Linked DNA regions of Homo sapiens: regions 1, 2, 4, 5, 6 and 7 are each linked to region 3. The links are contacts of gene promoters, found by promoter capture Hi-C in blood cells and fetal thymus (Javierre and others, 2016). All regions are on one chromosome and are shown on one strand. Each heading gives the region's core, a stretch centred on a gene start or on the middle of the fragment in contact. The rest is flanking DNA. Distances are from core to core; before and after follow the strand shown.

Region 1 (2,700 bases), core at 50-2,549, 420 kb before region 3:
ATTTATTGGAGATTCAGTCTGTGCCACACCACACGACAGGTCAGCCGCAAGCATGATTTCATTTAATTCTCATAATAACTTTGTGAGGGTGGATGATAAAAATAAGGACAATTTTGAATATCTTTTGAGCAGCCACTATGGGTAGCTGGTTTCCATGTATCTTCTTTAATCTGAAATAGCACTACAGGGGTTGCCGTTAAGATCCTTGTTTGACAAAGGAGGCCGATTGAGACACAGTGTAGTTAGGCACCTTTGTTGAGGTCACATAGCTAGTGAGCACTGGGGCCATTGTCAGAACCCGGACTCCTGGTCCCATGCCCTGAATCATTGCACCCCACACAGTTGGGAAGATCAGGCTCAGAGATGAGAGCCAGCTTGGCCAGTGGAGAAAGCCTGAGGATGTCACTGCAAATTCCTGTCCCTCCACTTCTCTCCTCTCTTGGTCTGAACTCGCCCTCACCCCAACACCAGGGATTTCACAATTGTTCTCAGTGTCATTTCTCTCCTTCCTGCCGTCCTCCCTCTCCCGTCCACTCCAAATTTTAGCCCCTGGTTTTACACTCATCTTCCCTCCTGATTCACGGCCTCCCTCTCCCCCGACTTCACTTCCTGCTCCTTCACCCTGGACAAGGGTGTTTTAGAACCCTGTCCCAAGTAGCTCACATCAGTTCCTGAGCATTGAACTCACTCCCTCCAAGCCCACATCGACTGCCCCACTCTGGGTGAGCCCACTGGGCTATGCCCCAGCTCAGGCCTGATGGGAGGGGTCCAGGAGACTGTAAACTCAGGAATGTGGGAGCTTACTGGATATCTCACTGCTGCCTGCAATTATGGGCTAAATGGCTCCTCTCCTTGGTGAAAGCGTTGCTCCCAGGGCTGCCTTTTAACTCCTCTTCGTGGCCTGTTATTTCTCTGCTGGGTCTGCAAGTTTGAAACTGTCAGGGAAAAATCAGCCCCTCTGCTGGGCCGCCCACCCGGCGTCAGTATTCTGGAACACTGGTTTGGAATGGGGACGGCACTAACAGAGCAGGGAGGCCGGTCTGGGCTTCTCCCAACAGCTCCGGCTTCCCAAACAAGGCATGCCAAGGAGAGGGAAAAGGAAGTCTGGCCAGCCCTGCACTCCCTGCACCTCTGCAGCCCGCCCTCCCTTCCTCCCAGCCAGCTTTCTTAGCTCAGAGGGAAGGGGCAAGGGCTGATGCCTCTGAGCACTGGTTGTGTGATCCCCATGCTGGGAGCAGGCCTGGGAGAGGAGGAGAATTGCTTTGGGTCAGTCACCATTCCAAACAGAGGGCCAGACACCAAACAGGTGACACATGCATTTAATAGACACATTCCAGGGAGGGAACAGAGGGAGCACTCACTCCCAGCAGGCCACTTATAAACACTATGAGACAGGTGGGTGACAACCTGGCATTGAGAGACTCCCCAGCCTCTGCATCTGGAGGGAGGGAGGGAGGTGGAGCTGGAGGAGGACTTTCCAGCTGCCCGGGCCTCGCAAGATAGGCTGAATGAGAGCCTTAGGAGAGAGCAGGCTTTGGTTTCACATGTGTAACAGACGGGTGCTGCTGGCAGTCTGGGCACTGTCAGGAGGGAGAGGCTGGCTTAGGCCTGGGAATGGGTATAGCCAGTACTCCAGGCTCCCAGCAGCACAGGTGCACCTTACAAGGAGAGAGGAAGGAGGAGGACCCTGGTGTCCAGGTGTGACTGCAAACAGGCCTCAAGGCAGGGTAGAGGGAGCCATGGGGCTCTCTTAGTGCGTGTAGCTCTTCTGGCTGGAGGATGTGGTGGAGACAAACTTGACGCTAGAACCACTGCCCCCTAAGCCCCGGTTGCTGGTGGCACTGAATCCAGAACCTCCCAGGCCTGCACCCAGGCTATGCCCACCACTGGTGGTGAAGGAGTAGCCGCTGCCCCCACCGAGGCCCAGGTTTCCACCTCCAATGCTGCTGCCGCTTCCATAGCCACTGGAAAGAGTAGAGGTGACCACAGCTGCCGGGAAGAGAGGAGGTGTGGTCAGATCAAGTGCAAGCGAGAAGACAGCTGGGAGTGTGAGGGCCTGTGCCCTGGAGTCCTTGGGTGGGGAGGGGGTGGTCTCGTCAGCCAGCAGTTTGCCTCCTTCCAATGTCCCCTGCTTAGTGAGATCACTGCCTGTGTTCCTGAGCTGCAGCTCCAGGCAGCCTCTTAGGCTGGAATGGCTTCCTCCTCCCCTTCCAGAACCTACTGGAGCCCTCTCCTCCTGGAAGCAGCTCCAGTCCACCTGCTTTCCCTTTGATCCTCCTGCTGTGCCGTCTGGGTCTGTCTCCCTGTCTGAGCCTGACTCCAGAGTTTCTCTTCCTTCTGGATGCTTATGGGGGGAGGGGCACACTCCTCTTCCCTCAGCGTCTCCCAGCCCCACACTCAGAATCCCAGGGTGGAGGCTGGAATATTCTTGATGGATCAAGTGACAGATTAACCTGTTGGCCAGTGAACTCTGCCCCCGTTCTCCTCCCAACCTATTCTTCTCCTAATTTATAACTCATCCCCTTACACATTCTAGCACCCTACTTTGGGTCCTGCCGAAGGAAAATCAAATTTTAAAAAAATAGACTCCGTTATAGGATGAATTGTGTCCTTCAAAAACCTATGGTGAAGTGTTAACACCAGTATCCGTGAATGCAACCTTATTTGGAAATGGGATCGTTGCAGGTATAACCAAGTTAA
Region 2 (2,972 bases), core at 465-2,964, 400 kb before region 3:
CCTAAGATGAGGCAGGTTGTTCCTTGGATCCTGGCTCTGCCTCTTACCCACCAAGTTAGTTAACTTTTCTGAGGCTTGGTTTCCTCATCTTTAAAATGAAGATAAAGTTTAGCAAGGCAGTTGGGTACAAGACCAAGGTACAGAAATCAATCATTTTCATGCATTACCTTTCAGTAATTAGAAAACGTGATGGAGAGAAAGGAGAAAGGAGTTCTAACTCATAACACAAAAACTCTGAGATGCCTAGGGATACCTAACAACAACAACAACAATAACAACACAACAAAATGCACAAGAATAACCAGAAAACATTGAAGACAAACAATGAGTAGGACTTGCTGTATAAGAAACCAACATGTAAATAACAGAGTGAATGTCACCAAGATGGCAGAATACAAGGTAACCTGTTCATATCCCCCCACAAGATATTCTGCACCCAACCACAGTCCAAAATCTCTCTGCAGGTTCAGACATCATTGCACATCCTTGAGCATCGAGGATGTTCATGGAAAAGACCTCACCAAATGGACAAAATAAGGCACCAGAGACTGACCCTAAAGTAATAGAGAAAGCAGCATGTAATATAAAGATCTAGTAATCACAGTGGTGTGATCAGACAAAGAGATCAATGACACAGAAGATAAAGTGTATGAATTCAGCATGTAATAAAAATGGCATTTCAATGGTGGAAAAAGTAGGATGTTGATCTTTATGTAGCAGAAAAGTATGAAAATGAAAATAGCAATTACCCAAATTCATACTCCTCAGAATTAATCACTATTAGTATTTTGTCCTGGCAAGATGGCGAACCAGCTGGGGCTGTTATCTTCCTCCCACAGGATGAATCCTGAGAAACTGTAGAAACACATGAAAGGCACGGATACTAGGACGTATGAATTTTTGTTGTTTATCTGTAGTTCAACTTTAACTGAGGTTTCAGTGCAGTGGTTCATGCCTATAATTCCAGCACTTTGGGAGGTTGAGGTGGAAGGATCACTTGAGCCCAGGAGTTTGAAACCAGCCTGGACAAATAGTGAGACCCTAACTCTACAAAAATTACAAAAAAGAAGAAATTATCTAGGCATGGTGGTGCATGCCTGTGGTCACAGGTACTCAAGAGGCTGAGGCAAGAGGATCACTTCAGCCTGCGAAGTCCAGTCAGCAGGGAGCCATGATTGCACTACTCTACTCTAGCTTGGGTGACAGAATGAGACTATGTCTAAAAAAAAAACACAACAAATTTAACTGGGCTTCCTCTATTTTGTCTGGACAACCCTATTCACAGGAGACTGGGATGCCTGCTCCAAGTCTCAAGCCAGCTGGCATCTAGCTGGCCTCTCAGAGAGGGTAAGCATCTGGATTTCACTTGAGGGTAGTGAGGGACCCTGCCAGTAGCCTGCTGTCCTCGAGCTTTTTACCTGAGGGGGGAGAATGACTTTGCCTGGCACACTGGGAAGTTGTCCTAACAGCTTTTGGGACTTGAACAACGTGGCAGTTCCTACGCTCTGCTTCCACCATGCCTTTGACTTCAAACTCTAGACTGCAATGATAGAAAGGGAGGGGGTCACTAATTCCCCAAAGTCTCCTCCCGCTCCAAAGCTTCTGCTAATGACCTACTCAGTGGCAAGACGTTTGCTCACCCACAGACAACCATGGGAAGAAGGCCAGACCTCAACTACAGTAGTGACGCATGGGAAAGAGTCTCTGCTGTGGCATCAAATGGGCAAAATATGACCATAACTGAAAGAGTTATTGTTGTTCTTCAGGAATTTTCTTTCACTTTGTATTCTTCTGCTCACGGATAAGACCTGATTAGCCAGTTTCTAGAATAAGCTTGTGTAAACATGGCCTAAAAGATAGAGAGTCTGTTTCCGTCTAAAAGTGAAAATTACAACCCTGATGTTGATATCTGGTCAATTTGAATGAACGTCCAACCATCAATTTTTGCTTGTCAAAATTATCATGAAAGTTTACAGTTAAAATGTGCATGGTTTTTTGTTTTGTTTTGTTTTGTTTTTGCATCCTATCATCAAATGAGGAACTCCCTTAACCTTCATCATCCAGGCTGGAGTGCAGTGTTGCAATCATAACTCACTGCCACTTCAGACACCTTGGCTCAAGTGATCCTCCTGCTTCGGCTTCCTAAGTAGCTAAAACTACAGGTGTGCACCACCATGCCCAACTAATTTTTTAGTTTTTTTGTACAGACAGGGTCTGGCTATGTTGCCCAGGCTGGTGTCACACTCCTAAGCTCAAGTGATTCCTGCCTTGGCCTCCCAAAGTGTTGGGATTACAGTCATGAGCCGCTGTGCTCAGTCCCCATGTTGATCTGAGTGTCGTCTGTCAGCGTGGACCATGTTGTCTCATGGACCATGTCATCTTTGCCAGCAGCACCTCAAAACAAACTCTCTAATTTTATAAAGAAATTTTATGAATTTATTTTATCTTTTTTTACAACTTCACTTTTTCTAAGGGTTGTTGAGGTATAATGTACAGACAGTCAAAGTCACTGTTTTTAGGTGTACAGTCATAAACATTCTAACCAGCCTTTCCCAAGATAAGTTCTTTTTTTCTTTTTTTTTTTAGATGGAGTTCTTGCTCTGTTGCCCAGGCTGGAGTGCAGTGGCATTATCTTGGCTCACTGCAACCTCCACCTCCCAGACTCAAGTGATTCTTGTGCCTCAGCCTCCTGAGTAGCTGGAATTACAGGTGCATAACACCATGCCCAGCTAATTTTTGTATTTTTAGTAAAGACGGGGTTTCTTCTTGTTGACCAGGCTGGTCTCAAACACCTGGCCTTAAGTGATCCACCTGCCTCGACCTCCCAAAGTGCTGGGATTAACAGGTGTGAGCCACCAAGTCCGGCCCCAGGATAAGTTCTTAAGTTCAGCCCATGTATCTTTGAGTTGTGTCAAAACCATTCCAAAACATATGGCACTGCATGGCTTTAAATCCATACACTGAGATTTGAG
Region 3 (2,915 bases), core at 416-2,915:
TGAGATGCCTTGCCCAGGATGCACAGCTACCCCTCACTCACAGTTGCCCCAACCCAAGCCCCCTATTAGTCCAGGGCTCTCTCCACTCCACCAGGTGACCTAGGCGTGGAGCCCAGAACCACAGCCCATCTGTGAATTGTGTCACAGGCCTGGGGACAGCCCCACTAAATTGATTCCCTTCCCTCTTTGGAACCAGAGAACATCTGAATCACTTTAGCCCACAGCCCGCTGAACAGGAATTTCTCAAGAATAAAAAAAGCCACTGGGGCATTGTTTAAATAAGCCCTTCCCAGCCTTGACCGGAAACATGGGCCCTTGTAGCTGGGGCATGTAGGACACCGGTCTCCCTGCCTTTCCTCCAAGGTTCTCCAGATCTGCTTGGGGACTGCGGGACACCTCGTTTACCTGTAGCAGGTGGGCACCTGAGAGCCTGGGGAATGGGGACGCGGAGGGGTAGAGGGGAGGCCAGTCATGTGCCTCTGGGTGCTCAGTATGTGGGACACCTCCTGGCTGACAGACCCAAACTGAGTCATCCCAGACCCCGCCCACATGGCATGGGGAAATTTCAGTGTGCCTACTTGGACTTATACTCCTCCTCCTGGTCCCGGCAGGCCTTCAACTCAGCATCCAGAGCCCCTCGTTCTCCCTGGAGCTGCTCCAGCTGCTTCCTGAGCTGATCCAGGCAGGCCTCAAAGACAGGCTCCAGGCCCTGCTGGCTGCCACTCAACCCCTGTTGCTGCAGCAGATGCCACTTCGTCTCCAGGACCTTGTTCTGCTGCTCCAGGAACCGCACCTGCAGCAAAAGCAGAGGATCCCTGAGGCTCCTGTGGGACTCCCTGTGCACAGCCTCTGGAAAGTAAAGCCTGAGGGACCCTCCCATCAGCCTCACCTTTCCCCTGTCCCCCTGCCCAACCTGGGCAGGGGAAGCCTCATGACCTTCCATGACACTCTGAACACAACAAAATGACTGGACTGACTAATGGGGCAGGGCCTTCCCCCCGCTGGCTGGCAGTTCTCTGTCCCTGAGCCCCAATCATGGAACAACAGGGCCTCAGCATAGCCAGAGAGAGTCCAGTTAGTCCACAGGAGGGACTTCTTTGCTGCAGAAGTTATTAGAAAAGTGGTAGAAGGAGGCCAAACTTCCCATTTCCAAGTCCATCAAGAGCAGCTCCTCCAAGGGAGGCACAGAGACAGGGGCTTGGCTGAGTTGACCCTCACCTTGTCAATGAAGGAAGCAAACTGGTTGTTGAGGGTTCTGATCTCCTGGGTCTCCTGCGTCCGCACCACCTGGAACTGGGGATCGATCTCAATCTTCAGTGGGGTCAGCAGATTCTGGTTGATGGTCACTTCTTGGATGCCCCCCGGAGGGCACAGGGAGAGCCCAGGCCCACCACTCCACTCCCCAAACCGCACCCCCAGCCTACCCCCTGACCCCCAGGTACTCCCACGAGAGCCTTCCAGGCACCCCCCAAAGGAATTAAGGCTCCTGCTGCTGAAGCCGCCCCTGCTGCTGAAGCCTCCCCTGCTGCGGCCCCTTGAGCGAGCAGAACAGGCTGAGCGAGCGCTGAAGCCCCTCTGGGCCCGGCATGGGGAGAGAGACATGGCAGAGACAGACAGTCACGCAGCTGCAGACGGACAGACAGATTGTCAAGGTGTGTGAGTTTCTGCCCTGGGGCCCCAGCACGAGACTTTTATCCACTCCCGTACCTGGGCTGGGCCTTGGAGAGCAAGATACTCTTGACCTGACTGTGTCTGTCACTTGGCTCCAGCTGACTTACTCTGACGTGCCTGGAGAATAAGTGTCCGGCACGTGCAGAGCCAAGGGAGAAGGAAACCCAGACCCTGCCCTCAGAGCTCCCAGGCTGTTGGAGAAATAGGCATGCCCAAAGACAAGGAAGCAGGCAGGAGACTGGGATGTCAGTGCTGAGGGACAGGGAGGGATGGCCGGAGCAAAGTCACTGAGGCCCTCAGGGAAGGCTTCCTGAAGGAGACAGGGAAGCGAGAGGAGGTTGAAGAGGAAAGAACGCTAGAAGGGGTTCAGAGGAAGCATCAGAGTGCCCTGGATTCTCAAGGGAGAATCTGCCTCAAGGAGTTGGAGAAGGAAGGCACTTGCAGCGCCACAAAGAGAGGAGGTTAGTGGAGGTGTTATTGCCATAGTTGGCTAAAAGACACTCCAGGATTTGGAAATGAAACAGAAAAACAGGGTTTCCAAGTCCTTCCTCTTGCCCAACCCAGCAATCATCCATGAGGCACCACCCACTGAAATCAGGCATCTCCATCCAGGATCGCATGGGACAGCACGTTTCTGACCCAGCCTGTGGCTCTGCTCCTTCCACAAGCACTTGGGGCCAGGCCCATCCACCTGCCATCAGGCTCCGCTTCCTGAGGTTACAAATCAGAGCCACCCAGGCTCTGAAATGAAATGTGCATTTAGGGCCGGGCACAGTGGCTCACGCCTGTAATCCCAGCACTTTGGAAGACCGAGGTGGGTGGGTCACTGGAGGTCAGGAGTTTGAGACCAGCCTGACCAACATGGTGAAACCCCATCTCTACTAAAAATACAAAAATTGGCCAGGTGTGATGGTGCACACCTGTAATCCCAGCTACATATGAGGCTGAGGCAGGAGAATTGCTTGAACCCAGGAGGCAGAGGTTGAGCAGTGAGCCAAGATCGTACCACTGCACTCCAGCCTGGGCAACAGAGTGAGACTCCATCTCAAAAAAAAAAGCAAGGTGCATTTAGAAAATACTCCTAAGCTGGGAACGGTGGCTCACGCTTGTAATCCCAGCACTTTGGGAGGCCTAGGCGGGTGGATCACGAAGTCAGGAGATCGAGACCATCCTGGCTAACACGGTAAAACCCCGTCTCTTAAAAATACAAAAAATTAGCCAGGCGTGGTGGCAGGCACCTGTAA
Region 4 (2,968 bases), core at 261-2,760, 450 kb before region 3:
GCGCCTGTAGGTGGCGATCTCGATGTCCAGGCCCAGCTTGGAGTTCATCACCTCCTGATATTCCTTGAGCAGGCAGGCCATGTCCTGCTTGGCCTTCTGCAGAGCCTCCTCCAGCCCTGCCAGCTTGCACTTGGCATCATTGAGAGCCGCCTCGCCCTGCTGCTCTGCCTCAGCTATGGCACCCTCAAGTTTGCAGCGCTGTGGGAGGGGCGCAGAAAAGCATCACTGGGGGCCCTGGAGCCCCAAGCCAGACTCGCAGAAGAGCAGAGAGAACACGGGGGTGGCTACGTGCCAGGCTCACATTTGCGAGCTTCATCCTAGGATTGCGACATCTGGTTCCTCCAGGGAACTGGGATGGGTTTTCTGTCTAAAATACCTCCAAGAGAGCGGGGATTTTCCTCTTAAGTATGCTGAGAAATTTCTGTGGGGTTAATATGTTTTAAATGCCCAGCTGGTCTTCCCTAGCCCAGGAGAATGGAGTGGGTCTGATTTTATGAACAACTGAGAGTCACCTTGAATTTCAGGATCATAGAATCACAGTCTTTGGGTCTGAAGGGACCGTGGAGTGCATCTTTTCTATACTTGCACCTAGTGAAGCATCCTTGCTTCTCATCTTTGACATTGGTCACCTCGTTTCTGTTGGGGACCTGACTATTTCCTGTGGCTGCTCATCCTGCTGTGGGTCAGCCCTTTGGTAGAAAGGGCTTGCTTCTGCTTGAGCAAGGCAGCACAAGTTTATTCCCTCTTCAATGGCACTCACAGCAAGGATTGAACCCGCCCTGCACGGCACAGACTGGCCAGTCAGCCCAGGATGGCTGTTGCAGCAAGGAAGTCCTCCCCAGCCTCACCTGGGCTTTGACATTCTCGGTTTCTTGCTGCAGCCGCTGGATCAGTTTATTCATTTCCAGGATCTCGTTCTTACGGTTGCGGAGGTTGTCACAGTGGTTCCCAGCTGTGACTCTCAGCTCCTCATACTGCCAGGACAGAGAGGTCAGAGCCCCAGGCCCCACAAGATGGCATCTCCTAGCCTCTTTTCTCACTGTTCCCAGTCTTTTCTCCCGTGACTTCCTAGTTCAGGTGTTCTCTGGTTCTCATACTGGTTCTGCTCCTTTACCTTCTTCCGCTTCTGGGCAATTTTGGGTCCTTTATGTGGGCTGTTCCTGATTCCCATCTCACCCCATCCCCAGCTCCAGGCTTGTTAGATTTTTCTCCAGCCTCTGAGATCCCCTCCTCTGTTGAGCTGTTCTGTGTCTGGTCCTTTTCTCTGTCCCAGAGCCCAAGTTCACCTGAGGGCTCCCTCCCTTTTAGATATGCCTCTGGAACTTGGAAGGGGTTTCTGTGCTCAGCCTGGGTTGCCTAACAGACCAAGGACTGCCCATTAGGATGGGTCTGCCCATCAGGATGAGAACATTTGTATGTTTTCCACAAAAACAATAAAAAAAACAAAATGCAATTTATGTCCTACCTTGAGGTAACACTTTTTTATAAAAACCTTTGCACTCTGAATCCAATTTCTGAATAGTAGTGTGTACAGATTACATTTGTAAGTTTTAAAAAATTAGCTGACTTTAGATTTTCTGATAGTGAGTGGGAGCATATTATATAGAAAATGCAAAATGAGAGATAAGCACATAATCACACTCATTGGCTCTTTTGTTATTTGGTTACAGTAGGAAAGTCTGCAGTTGCCTAGTAAATATCCATTGTCCTCTTCTTAAAACAGAACCCCTGGCTGGGCTCAGTGACTGACACCTGTAATGCCAGCATTTTGGAAGGCTGAGGCGGGCAGATCATTTGAGGTCAAGAGTTCAAGACCAGCCTGGCCAACATGGTGAAACCCCATCACTACTAAAAATACACAAATTAGCTGAGTATGGTGGTGCATGCTTATAATCCCAGCTACTTGGGAGGCTGAGGCAGGAGGATCACTTGAACCTGGGAGGCAGAGGTTGCAGTGAGGCGAGATTGCACCACTCACTGCACTCTAGCCTGGGCAATAGAGCAAGACTCCATCTCAAAATAAACAAACAAACAAAAAACAAAAATAACAGCAACAGAAAAAACCCAGAACCAAATAGAACACTGCTTTTATTTAGGGTAACAATGAGCCCAGATAAGAGAATATTTCTCAGTCTTCCAATCAATGAGATCTATGACCATGGCTGGGTAGGGCTTCTGGGTAAGCTCTTTAAAGGGGGGAATGACCCAGTTGGCTTTTTTTGCCTCTGTTCTCCTTGCTGCCAGGCGTAAGCATGTGAGATTGGAGGTGCTGCAGCTTTCTTGGAACATGAGGCAACCAAGAGGATGGAGCATGTATTACAGATGGCAGAATGGTGAACTCAAAGGATCCTGGGTCCCTGATGATGTCACAGAATCTCTGTGTCATCCTGGGCAGTCTATTTTGTACTTCAAGCTACTTTAGAAAAAAGTAAAAATTCAATTTTAACTTTTTTTTTTTTTTTTAGAATTTCTGATCCTGGTAGCCAAATGCAATCTTCAACTAATAGAATTTTCTCTAAGATTCTGACTTAGCAGGATGGGAAAATGAGGTGGTTGTAATCCTGAACCCAACATGGCTGATGGTTGTTGCCAGGGGCAACCAGAGGAAGGGCCAGCCAGAGTGAAACCTGGCCGTGGGTGGGTCACAGACAGGTTCACCAGGAGCTGACTCCATTTCAAGTTTTCATACTTCCAACCACCATGGAGCTCCAGAAAATGGGCAGAGCATCACTTTGGGCACTCCCTGGGCAGTGGCACCCACTGCCTTCAGAACAAAGCCAAATGACTTAGCACAGCCCTGCAGATGCTGTGACCTGGCCTCAAGCTACCCCTCCAGCCCGATCTCCACAGCACATGGCACTCCAGGCCCCTCAATTTCTGCTGCTGTGTCCTAGCACCTGCTGCTCAGCCTGGCACACCCTCCCCCCATCTCCCCTTTGAATCTTATTTGTCCTTCAAGATTAGATCA
Region 5 (2,700 bases), core at 112-2,611, 490 kb before region 3:
GTCTTGGTGCATCTCACAATGTGGTCCACCGACCACCACCTGCATCAGAATCCCTGTGGGGTAGTTGCTAAATGTGCAGATCCTGGGCTCCATCTGGAACTCTCAATCAAAAGTTCTAGGGATGAGCCCAGGAATCTGTATTTTAAGAAGCTTCCAGGTGATTCCTAGAAGAACTAAAGCTTGAGAACCACAGGTTGATGTGGGTAGAGGGAAGAGGAGGGTCGGATAATTCTGGCCATGGAAGTGACTGTCCCTCTGATTCTCACTGGATCGGTCTAGCCCCTTTGCATTTCTCCTTTGTCTGCGGCTAAAAGGTCAGAGCCATGGTCTGGGCCACACACACACCAGGGCAAGGTGGGGGCAAAGGTACAAAAGGGGTGAGGAAGGGAGCCTGTATTTGTTAAACACCTGCTAGGTGTCTGGCACATTATATATGTATTTCATTAATTTCTCACAGCAACCAGAATATTATCCTCATTTTACGTATAAATAAATTAAGGCTCAAAGAAGTAGCTTTACTAAGTTACCCAGCTAGTCCAGAATTCAAACTCATGTCTAGGGAATGCTGCTGTTCATAAATGTTTCCACAGCATTTCCCTAATTGCTCCTCAGGCTAAACATTCCGGCTCATCAGATGCTTCCGGAGGAGTTCTGCCTGATGCTCCTTCACCAGCTGTCTGACACTTTGGAGATGAGATGGAAGGTGACACATGGGACCTCCTAGAAGCATTTGTAGAAACATCTCCCCGTAGGTTCTGTTCTCCAAGAATCTCGGACAGATCGTACCACGGGGCGGTTAATACAAGCCTTTTATATGGGAACCCAAGATCAAAGCTCAGACACGTGGTTGGAAGGCATTTGCCCTGATAACCTGGTCAGAGGCAATTGATTGGTGAACTGTATGTCTGGCCTACTCTTGAACTGACAGTTCCCTAGAAGTCCTACCTAGGGCTGTCTCACCTGTATGTGATGAATGGAGACAGGGGTTTCTGAAGGTCAACTTTCTTTCACTTGTTGTACAGGAAGAACTATTTCTCCCACCTTATTTTATTTGGAACTTTTTTTTTTTTAAGCCTGACTGGGTAGGAAACATTTTGCCACAAGAATGCATATCTGATCTCATGACATAGAAAAGTCTTTAAAAGGTTTTTTTTTTCTTTTCTTTTCCATGGTGCTCACGCACATTGCCAAACCTTCTGGTACCAGCTCCGGACCTGCCAAGGCAATGGCTTGGCACCCCGGCCTAGGGGTGGAGTCTGGGGGAGCAGGGCCTGGCCTTTTGACTACCTGCGGGTTCGCTCCCCACATCCCATTCACTGCAGACGGGCGACCCCCGAGGGTCTTTATAAAACCTCTGTGCCAGGACGCACTAGGCACCTAGACTTCGGAGAGGAGGGCGCCGACCCCGGCCACGGTGCTATGGGCATGTCACGGGGCAGCCCTGAGCAGCCAATAACCCCCAAACACCCTGCCCACTACCCCAAAACGGCGGGCAGGTGGCGCCCAGCTCGCCCTCCCGTCCCTCCCGGCGCCCAGCCCCTAGGCCCCTCACCACTGGGGTTAGAGGCTAAGGGCGGGACGCGGGGCGTCTCGGGCAGGGGTGAAGGAGGGCAGCCGGGGCCCAGGCGTGGAGGGCGGGCGCGTTTGAGAGAGGCGCAGGCGGCGGGATCCCGGCGGACGGCAGAAGACTCAGGAACCAGTCCAGAGGCGCCGAGGCGCGAACCTTGCGTGAGCCAAGGACCCAAGGCCCCTGTGGATCTGATCCCGCGGGCTCCAGCAGGGCCCGCGCCGTGCATCTGGAGATGGGCCCAGGATACCCGGTGGCTGGACGTGACGGTGGGCAGGCAGGCAGGGCAGGGCACGGGGCGACCCGTGAGCAAAGCGAGGGTGGGGGTAGGAGGGGTGTGGCCCCTGACTCTCGTGGGTGGGGAGATGGGGGACAACGGTGGCCTCAACGGGAGACGGGGCCAAAGTGGGGACCTGCAGGGAGGACCTGCAGGCCCCTTGTTACACTGTAAACTGTCCCCACCCAGGTGGCCTGCGGACCACCGAGGCTGAGGAAGTCCTGCTGGCCTGGACGGTGACTCGCCTTCCCATCCCGAGTCTCTCGCATCCAGAGGGCCAGCACTGCACGGGCGACATAACAGAGAAGAGCCTTTGAATGGTTCTCCTCGGCCACGCAGTTCTTCTGATGTCTTCAGACTCTGTTTCAGTGACCACAATGGCCAGGCAGTGACTTGACCTGGGCGGACAGAGGTCTATCTTAGTAGGGTGGTGCTTCCCTTGTCTCTGTCTCCCGGACCAAAGGGTCTTGCAGGGGCCTGCCCATCACAGTCCGGATCCCACCAAGTTTGAGCAGCAGTAAAGCCAGGTTAAAAGGGTCACCAGAGTGACTCTGAGGAGGAAACGGTGTCTCAGGGGGCATTGGCTGCCCTGGGGCATGGGACTGTGGACTGGGGAAGGGTCTGTGTTTCCTTTTGATGGTGGTGGAGGGTGGCTATTTGTCTATGAATGCCTTGGGTATTTTCTTCATTTTTAATGCGTAAGCTTATCATGCTGTCCCCGCCTCACCCCACTCCCTGGCTGCTCCCCTGCCAACATGGGGGAGCCCTCGGTTTTTGAACAAAGCGGAAATGAGCAGGGATTTCCAGGCATGCACAGGTTGGGGGTTGGGGGTTGGGGGAGGCAGGAAGGTGGCCT
Region 6 (2,700 bases), core at 170-2,669, 470 kb before region 3:
AGAATGTCTTTTTGTTTCTTTGTTGGTTTTGTTTTCTTTTTGCCTTTGCTTCTGAAGGAGACTTTTGCTGGCTGTAGAATTCTGTGTTTACAGTCCCTCCCCCCTCCACAACCCTTGGCACTTTAAATGTGATGTGCCACCATCGTCTGTCTTTCATGGTTTCTGATGAGAAATCTATGATAATTTGAACGATTATTCCCCTATATGTAATGTGTTATTTTCCTCTAGCTTAAAAAAAACTTTAAAAAAATCTTATGTTCTCTTTATTCTTCAGATTGGATAATTTCTATTGATCTGTCTTCAAGTTATTGACTCTCCTTTGTCTACTTCTTTTTGTTATGGGCCCATCAATGACTTAAAAAATGTCAAATATTAAAATTGCCCCCAAGGGGTGTGTGTGACTTTGCACGTAGAAGATGAGGTGGGAAGTCATGAGCTCCTGGAAGCAGGAGGGCCAGTGGCTGGTGACCCCACCATCATGCAGGGCCTGAGGCTGTGAGCAGGGCAACCTCTACATCCTCAGGGTGCTGGCTGGGGTCTTGGCAATGCAGAACATATAAAAATGAGAGATGTGCTTCCTGCTCCCTCAGAAGAACTGTCTTGGAGTGAGGCTGACCAGCAAACCATTCCTACTATGAGACATGTGCCCCAATGGAGCTGTGCTGTTCGTGACTGTGCCTTGGCTGACTCCTGTCCCCACCTGACGCTATGTCTTGCACTCTATGCTATAGTCATGGCCAATTTCAACTCCAGGCAAATCCTCAAACTTCTGCTCTCTCCAACGTCTTGGTTTTTGCACATGCTGTTGTTGCCTCTGCTTGGGACACTTCTTCCTTCTTAGTATGGCTAATTCATCATCCTTCACACCTCTGCTGGGACATTATATCCTTCAGGAAGCATTTAATGTTGCCCCAAGTCTGGGCGGGGCCTCTTGTCTGGGTAGTACAGCATGAGTTCTGCTTTTAATATAGTACTTAGCATATTGAGTCAAGTGCTTATGCACTTGTCCATCTATCAGACATGTGCACTTGTCCATCTATCAGACAGGACTGTAAGCTCTTTGAGGGCCGGAATTGAATCTTGTCAATTACCATTTTCCCAGCATCATGCCTGGTATGTGGTAGGCACTTCTCAAATGTTTGTTGGATGAATAGACAAAAGATGAGAGGTGGGCAGTGGGCTGTGTGGAGGGGATGGCTGGAGGTGGAAGTCTACGGGCAGATCACACAGGGCTTGTATGCCATGTTAAGGAGCTTGGGCTATTTCTGGGAGGCAACGGGGAGCTACCGAAGGATATGAGCTGCGGGGAACCACAGTCAGTTTTTTATGTGAGAAAGGCCTTTCTAGCAGCATCGTGATGAATGAGTTGGATGGAGACACGAGTGGGAACAGAAAGACCAGGAAGGACCTATAATGAACTGATGAACTGGGGGAACTGAGGGTGGGTGAGACCTGGGGAGCAACAGATGGCAGGGTTCACTTTGGTCAGGGGAGGGTGCCTCTGAGCACAAGGCTATTCCCAGTGGTGGGGGGAAGTGGGCAGTGGGCTGGCTGCCACTTGTTTTTGGAGCCTTTGCTACCTCTCCTATGCCCTGCAGAACTGTCAGTCCCTCCAGCGAATGGCCTGGGCCCTCTTTCCTCAGTGCCTTCCCTGTGCCCAGGACACCAGTCTCTGCCCTACCTCAGCTAGGCAGGCTGTGATCTGGTGGAGTCTAGGAGGCAACTCCTCCAACCCCAGTGTGATCCAGAAGGAGAGGCCAGAGTCCCTGTGAGGTGAGCTTGGCAAGTTTATTGAAAACCCAGGAACACAAAGAGTAGTGCACACAGGCAGCCCACCCCACCCAACCCCCAGGCCTCCTTGGAGCTTGCAGACACAACCCTGCAGTGGACAGGGCTGGGCCTCACACCACGAGCAGGGGCAGGAGTACGGGGATCATTGCAAAGCCCGCCTGTCCGCCTGCACCCCACCTCGTGGACTTGCATGCTGGAGTTACACCAACAACCCAGGAAGAGAAACAGCCGGAGAGAAGCCACTGGGAGAAAAGCCATCTCGGGGTTTAGGGAGCCTGGGGCCACCAAGGACTGGGATCCCCTTCATCAGGGAGAGAAGGAAAGAACCTTCTCCTACCAGAGAAAGGAAGAAGAAGGAAGTGAAGGATGTGGAGTTAAGGATGCCTGCAGTGTGGACGGTCAACTCCATTCTCCAAATTAACCCAAAGCCACGGGTGGTGAGGGCACTGGGTGGATTGTTGTTATTGCACGGAATGTGCATTTCTCCAGGCTGTTGCTGACAGGGAGAGGAGTGATCCAAAGGACAGAAATTGGGAGGCAGGGAGAAGCCAGCTTAGCTGGAACTGCTAATGGAGCATCTACATGGCAGAAAAATCCTCCAAGAGGACATGGGGCCAGGCAGAATAATCGGGGGAGTGCTAAGGGGTGGCTTCCTGGCAGAAAGGGGAGCTGGAGACCGTCAAGCCCAGAGCCCACGAACCCTGGGGGCAGAAGCAGGAGCCGTGGAGCTGGTTCTTCTCTGGGCAGCAGCTGTCTGGGGCTGGGCTCTCAGTACTTGGTCCGGCAGGAGGTGGTGGTGGACACAAAGCGGACGCTGGAGCTGCGGCCGCCGCTGCAGCTGCTGAAGCCCCCCTGGGTGGGCAGGGGGCAGGGGACGCTGGGGACACAGGCCTCGCTGATGAGCATGGA
Region 7 (2,700 bases), core at 3-2,502, 380 kb before region 3:
GTTTCTTACAAAACTAAACATACTCTTACCATACAATTCAGCAACTGCATGCCTTGGTGTTTACCCAAATGAGTTAAAAACTTATGTCCATCCAAAATCCTGCACACAGATATTTATAGCAGCTTTATTCCTGATTTCCCAAACTAGGAAGCAACCAACAAATCTTTCCGTAGTTGAATGGTAAGTCAACTGTGGCCCATCAAGGCAATGAAATATTATTCAACACTAAAATGAAATGAGCTATCAAGCCATGAAAATACATGGAGGAAACTTAAATGCATATTACTAGGTGAAAGAAGCCAACCTGAAAAGGCTACATACTGTAGCCAACTATATGACATGCTGGAAAAGGGAAAAAACTATGAAGACAGTAAAAAGATCATTGGCTGCCAAGGCTTAGTTGGGAAAGATAAATAGGTGGAGCACAGAAGATTTTTAGGGCAGTGAAATGAATCTGTATGATACTATAGTGGTAGATACATGTTATCCATTTTTCATAACCATAGAATGTACAACTGCAAGAGTTACCCTTACTGTAAGCTTGGACTTTGGGTAATAATGACACATCAATGTAGATTTGATTGTAACAAATGTACCACTCTGGTGGGGGCTGTTGATAGTGAGTGAGGCTATGAATTTGTGTGGGCAGTGGGTATATGGTAAGTTTTTGTACCTCTGGACAATTTTACTGTGAACCTAAAACAGCTCTAAAAAATAAAGACGATATAGATAAACTTGGCAGACATTATGCTAAGTGAAATAAGCCAGACACAGGAAGACAAATACTGCACAGTCTCACTTATTCGTGTTATGTAGAAGAGAGGAACTTATGGAAGTTTAGAGTAGAATGATGGTTATCAGAGACTGGGAGAGGGGGTGGAGATGGGACAGAATGGGAAATGCTGGTCAAAGAGCACAATTTCAGTTAGATGAGAGGAATAAGTTTTGAGATCTACTGTGCAGCAGGGTGACAATCATCAATAATAATATATTGCATATTTCAAAATAGCTAAGAAAGTAAATTTCAAATGTCTCACCACAGAAAATGATAAAGCAGGGTGATAGATATATTAAGTAGCTTGATTTAATCATTTCATATTTTGTACATATATAAAAACATCATATTGTACCTCATAAATTTATGCAGTTTTGTTTTTGTCAATTTAAAATATTAATTTTTAAAATCCCCCCAAAATTCTATGGATTTTGACAAATGCATAATGTGACCTCACCACTGCAATTGTTTCACTTATCACCTTGCAAAGATCCTTTGCCTTTTCATATCAACTTTATCCAGTTTATTGATATTTAAACAATATCTTGCTGGGATTTTAATTGCAATTGTGTTGAATCTATGTATCAATTTAGAGAAAATTGACAGCTTAATAATTTTGAGTCTGCCAATCTACAAATCTGGAATATCTCTTCATTTATTTACATCTTTGATTTATTTCATCATTATTTAGTAGTTTTCCACCTATGGAGTCTCTTTATATTTTGTTAGATTTATGCCTAAGCATTTAATCCTTTTGGTGTTATTGTGAATGGTATTGATTTTTAATTTCAAATTTCAGTTCCTCATTGCTGGTATATAAGAAAGTACTTACTTTTGTCTAGTAACCTCGTGCCGGCAACTTTGCTCTCTCTGCTTGTTGCTGCCAGGAAAGTTTTGGTAGAGTCTTTGAAATTTTCTACATTGACTAAATGTCATATGAGGATAAAGAGAGTTTTTTTATTTCTAATATATATTACTTTTATTGCTTATTCTCATCTTACTGCTGCAGTTAAACTTCTAGTACAATGCGAGTAACAGTGGAGAGAGGGGACATATCTGCCTTGCTCTCGAACTATGTGAAAACGGCCTAGTCTCTCACTGTTAAGTATGATGTTAACTATGGGATTTTTTATTTTTCAGATGTTCTTTACCAAGTTGAGGAAGTTGCCGTCCATTTCTTGTTTGCTGACAAGCTTGTTTTCTTTGAAACATGAATTGGTGTTGGGTTATATAATAAACTTTTTCTGCATCAACTGATATAATTATATGATTTTTCTTTTTTAGTCTTCTGATATGGTAGATTTTATTGATGGCTTTTGAATGTTACACTAGCCTTGCATATATAGGATAAATCCTGCTTAGTTATGGTGTATAACTTTGAAGTACTTGGTAGGATTAAATTTGGTAATATTTGGTTGAGCGATTTTGCATCTATGTTTATAAGAGGTATTGGTCTATAGTTTTCTTTTCTCAAAATGTCTTTGTCTGGTTTCGGTGTTAGAGTAATATCGACCTCCATAGAATGAGTTATAAGCGTTCTCTCTGCATCTGTTTCCCAGAAGACATTGTAGACAATTGGTATCATTTCATTTCTAAATGTTAATAGAATTAACCAATAAAAATATCTGGGCTTGGTGCTTTCTTTTAGAGAGGCTATAAATTATTGATTCAATTTATTTAATAGGTGTGTTACTATTCCAATTATCTGTTTCTCCCTGTGTGTATTTTTTGGTAACCTGTGTCTTTCAAGGATTTGGTGCATTTCATTGAAGTTTCAAGTTTGTTCATTTGTAGTTTTCCTTTATTATACTTTGAATGTCCATATACTATAAGATTTTTATTTTTTATATAGATACACATACATGCACATTGTTTTTAACCTCCTTTTGGTATGTTTCTACATCCTAGATAATTTACCTTGTCAG

The links. Contacts are between HindIII fragments. The CHiCAGO score rates a contact against its expected background, and 5 or more counts as called.
Region 1: a contact is called between a fragment that was not itself captured here and the fragment with the promoter of KRT78 in region 3, in 1 of 17 cell types (endothelial precursors). The highest score is 5.3, in endothelial precursors.
Region 2: a contact is called between a fragment that was not itself captured here and the fragment with the promoter of KRT78 in region 3, in 3 of 17 cell types (naive CD8 T cells, endothelial precursors and erythroblasts). The highest score is 6.4, in naive CD8 T cells.
Region 4: a fragment that was not itself captured here is called in contact with the fragment with the promoter of KRT78 in region 3 in 2 of 17 cell types (naive CD4 T cells and endothelial precursors); the score reaches 6.3 in naive CD4 T cells.
Region 5: a fragment that was not itself captured here is called in contact with the fragment with the promoter of KRT78 in region 3 in 3 of 17 cell types (endothelial precursors, naive CD4 T cells and erythroblasts); the score reaches 5.9 in endothelial precursors.
Region 6: a contact is called between a fragment that was not itself captured here and the fragment with the promoter of KRT78 in region 3, in 5 of 17 cell types (endothelial precursors, erythroblasts, megakaryocytes and 2 more). The highest score is 10.7, in endothelial precursors.
Region 7: a contact is called between a fragment that was not itself captured here and the fragment with the promoter of KRT78 in region 3, in 1 of 17 cell types (endothelial precursors). The highest score is 5.5, in endothelial precursors.

What each region holds. Positions count from the first base shown.
Region 1 is chr12:52,422,767-52,425,466 of GRCh38, forward strand. KRT75 (keratin 75) reads right to left here. Exons shown (of 9, transcript NM_004693.3): 9 at 1,304-1,989. The coding sequence ends at 1,751. Among named protein-coding and RNA genes, the nearest start is that of KRT75, 10 kb to the right of the region's middle. The HindIII fragment of the contact is 7,485 bases long and covers 1-2,700 here.
Region 2 is chr12:52,443,107-52,446,078 of GRCh38, forward strand. No RefSeq gene overlaps it. Among named protein-coding and RNA genes, the nearest start is that of KRT6B, 7.6 kb to the right of the region's middle. RefSeq lists an enhancer at 1-205. The HindIII fragment of the contact is 234 bases long and covers 1,598-1,831 here.
Region 3 is chr12:52,847,329-52,850,243 of GRCh38, forward strand. It overlaps KRT78 (keratin 78), which reads right to left and starts at 1,666. Exons shown (of 9, transcript NM_173352.4): 1 at 1,219-1,666; 2 at 579-793. The coding sequence starts at 1,602. The HindIII fragment of the contact is 13,226 bases long and covers 1-2,915 here.
Region 4 is chr12:52,396,035-52,399,002 of GRCh38, forward strand. KRT82 (keratin 82) reads right to left here. Exons shown (of 9, transcript NM_033033.4): 6 at 849-974; 7 at 1-198. Among named protein-coding and RNA genes, the nearest start is that of KRT82, 8.8 kb to the right of the region's middle. RefSeq lists enhancers at 1-168, 291-460. The HindIII fragment of the contact is 4,156 bases long and covers 1-2,968 here.
Region 5 is chr12:52,354,762-52,357,461 of GRCh38, forward strand. No RefSeq gene overlaps it. Among named protein-coding and RNA genes, the nearest start is that of KRT85, 11 kb to the right of the region's middle. The HindIII fragment of the contact is 2,368 bases long and covers 178-2,545 here.
Region 6 is chr12:52,375,475-52,378,174 of GRCh38, forward strand. It overlaps KRT84 (keratin 84), which reads right to left. Exons shown (of 9, transcript NM_033045.4): 9 at 2,338-2,700. The coding sequence ends at 2,560. Among named protein-coding and RNA genes, the nearest start is that of KRT84, 8.8 kb to the right of the region's middle. The HindIII fragment of the contact is 4,277 bases long and covers 1-2,700 here.
Region 7 is chr12:52,464,360-52,467,059 of GRCh38, forward strand. No RefSeq gene overlaps it. Among named protein-coding and RNA genes, the nearest start is that of KRT6C, 8.1 kb to the right of the region's middle. The HindIII fragment of the contact is 1,428 bases long and covers 539-1,966 here.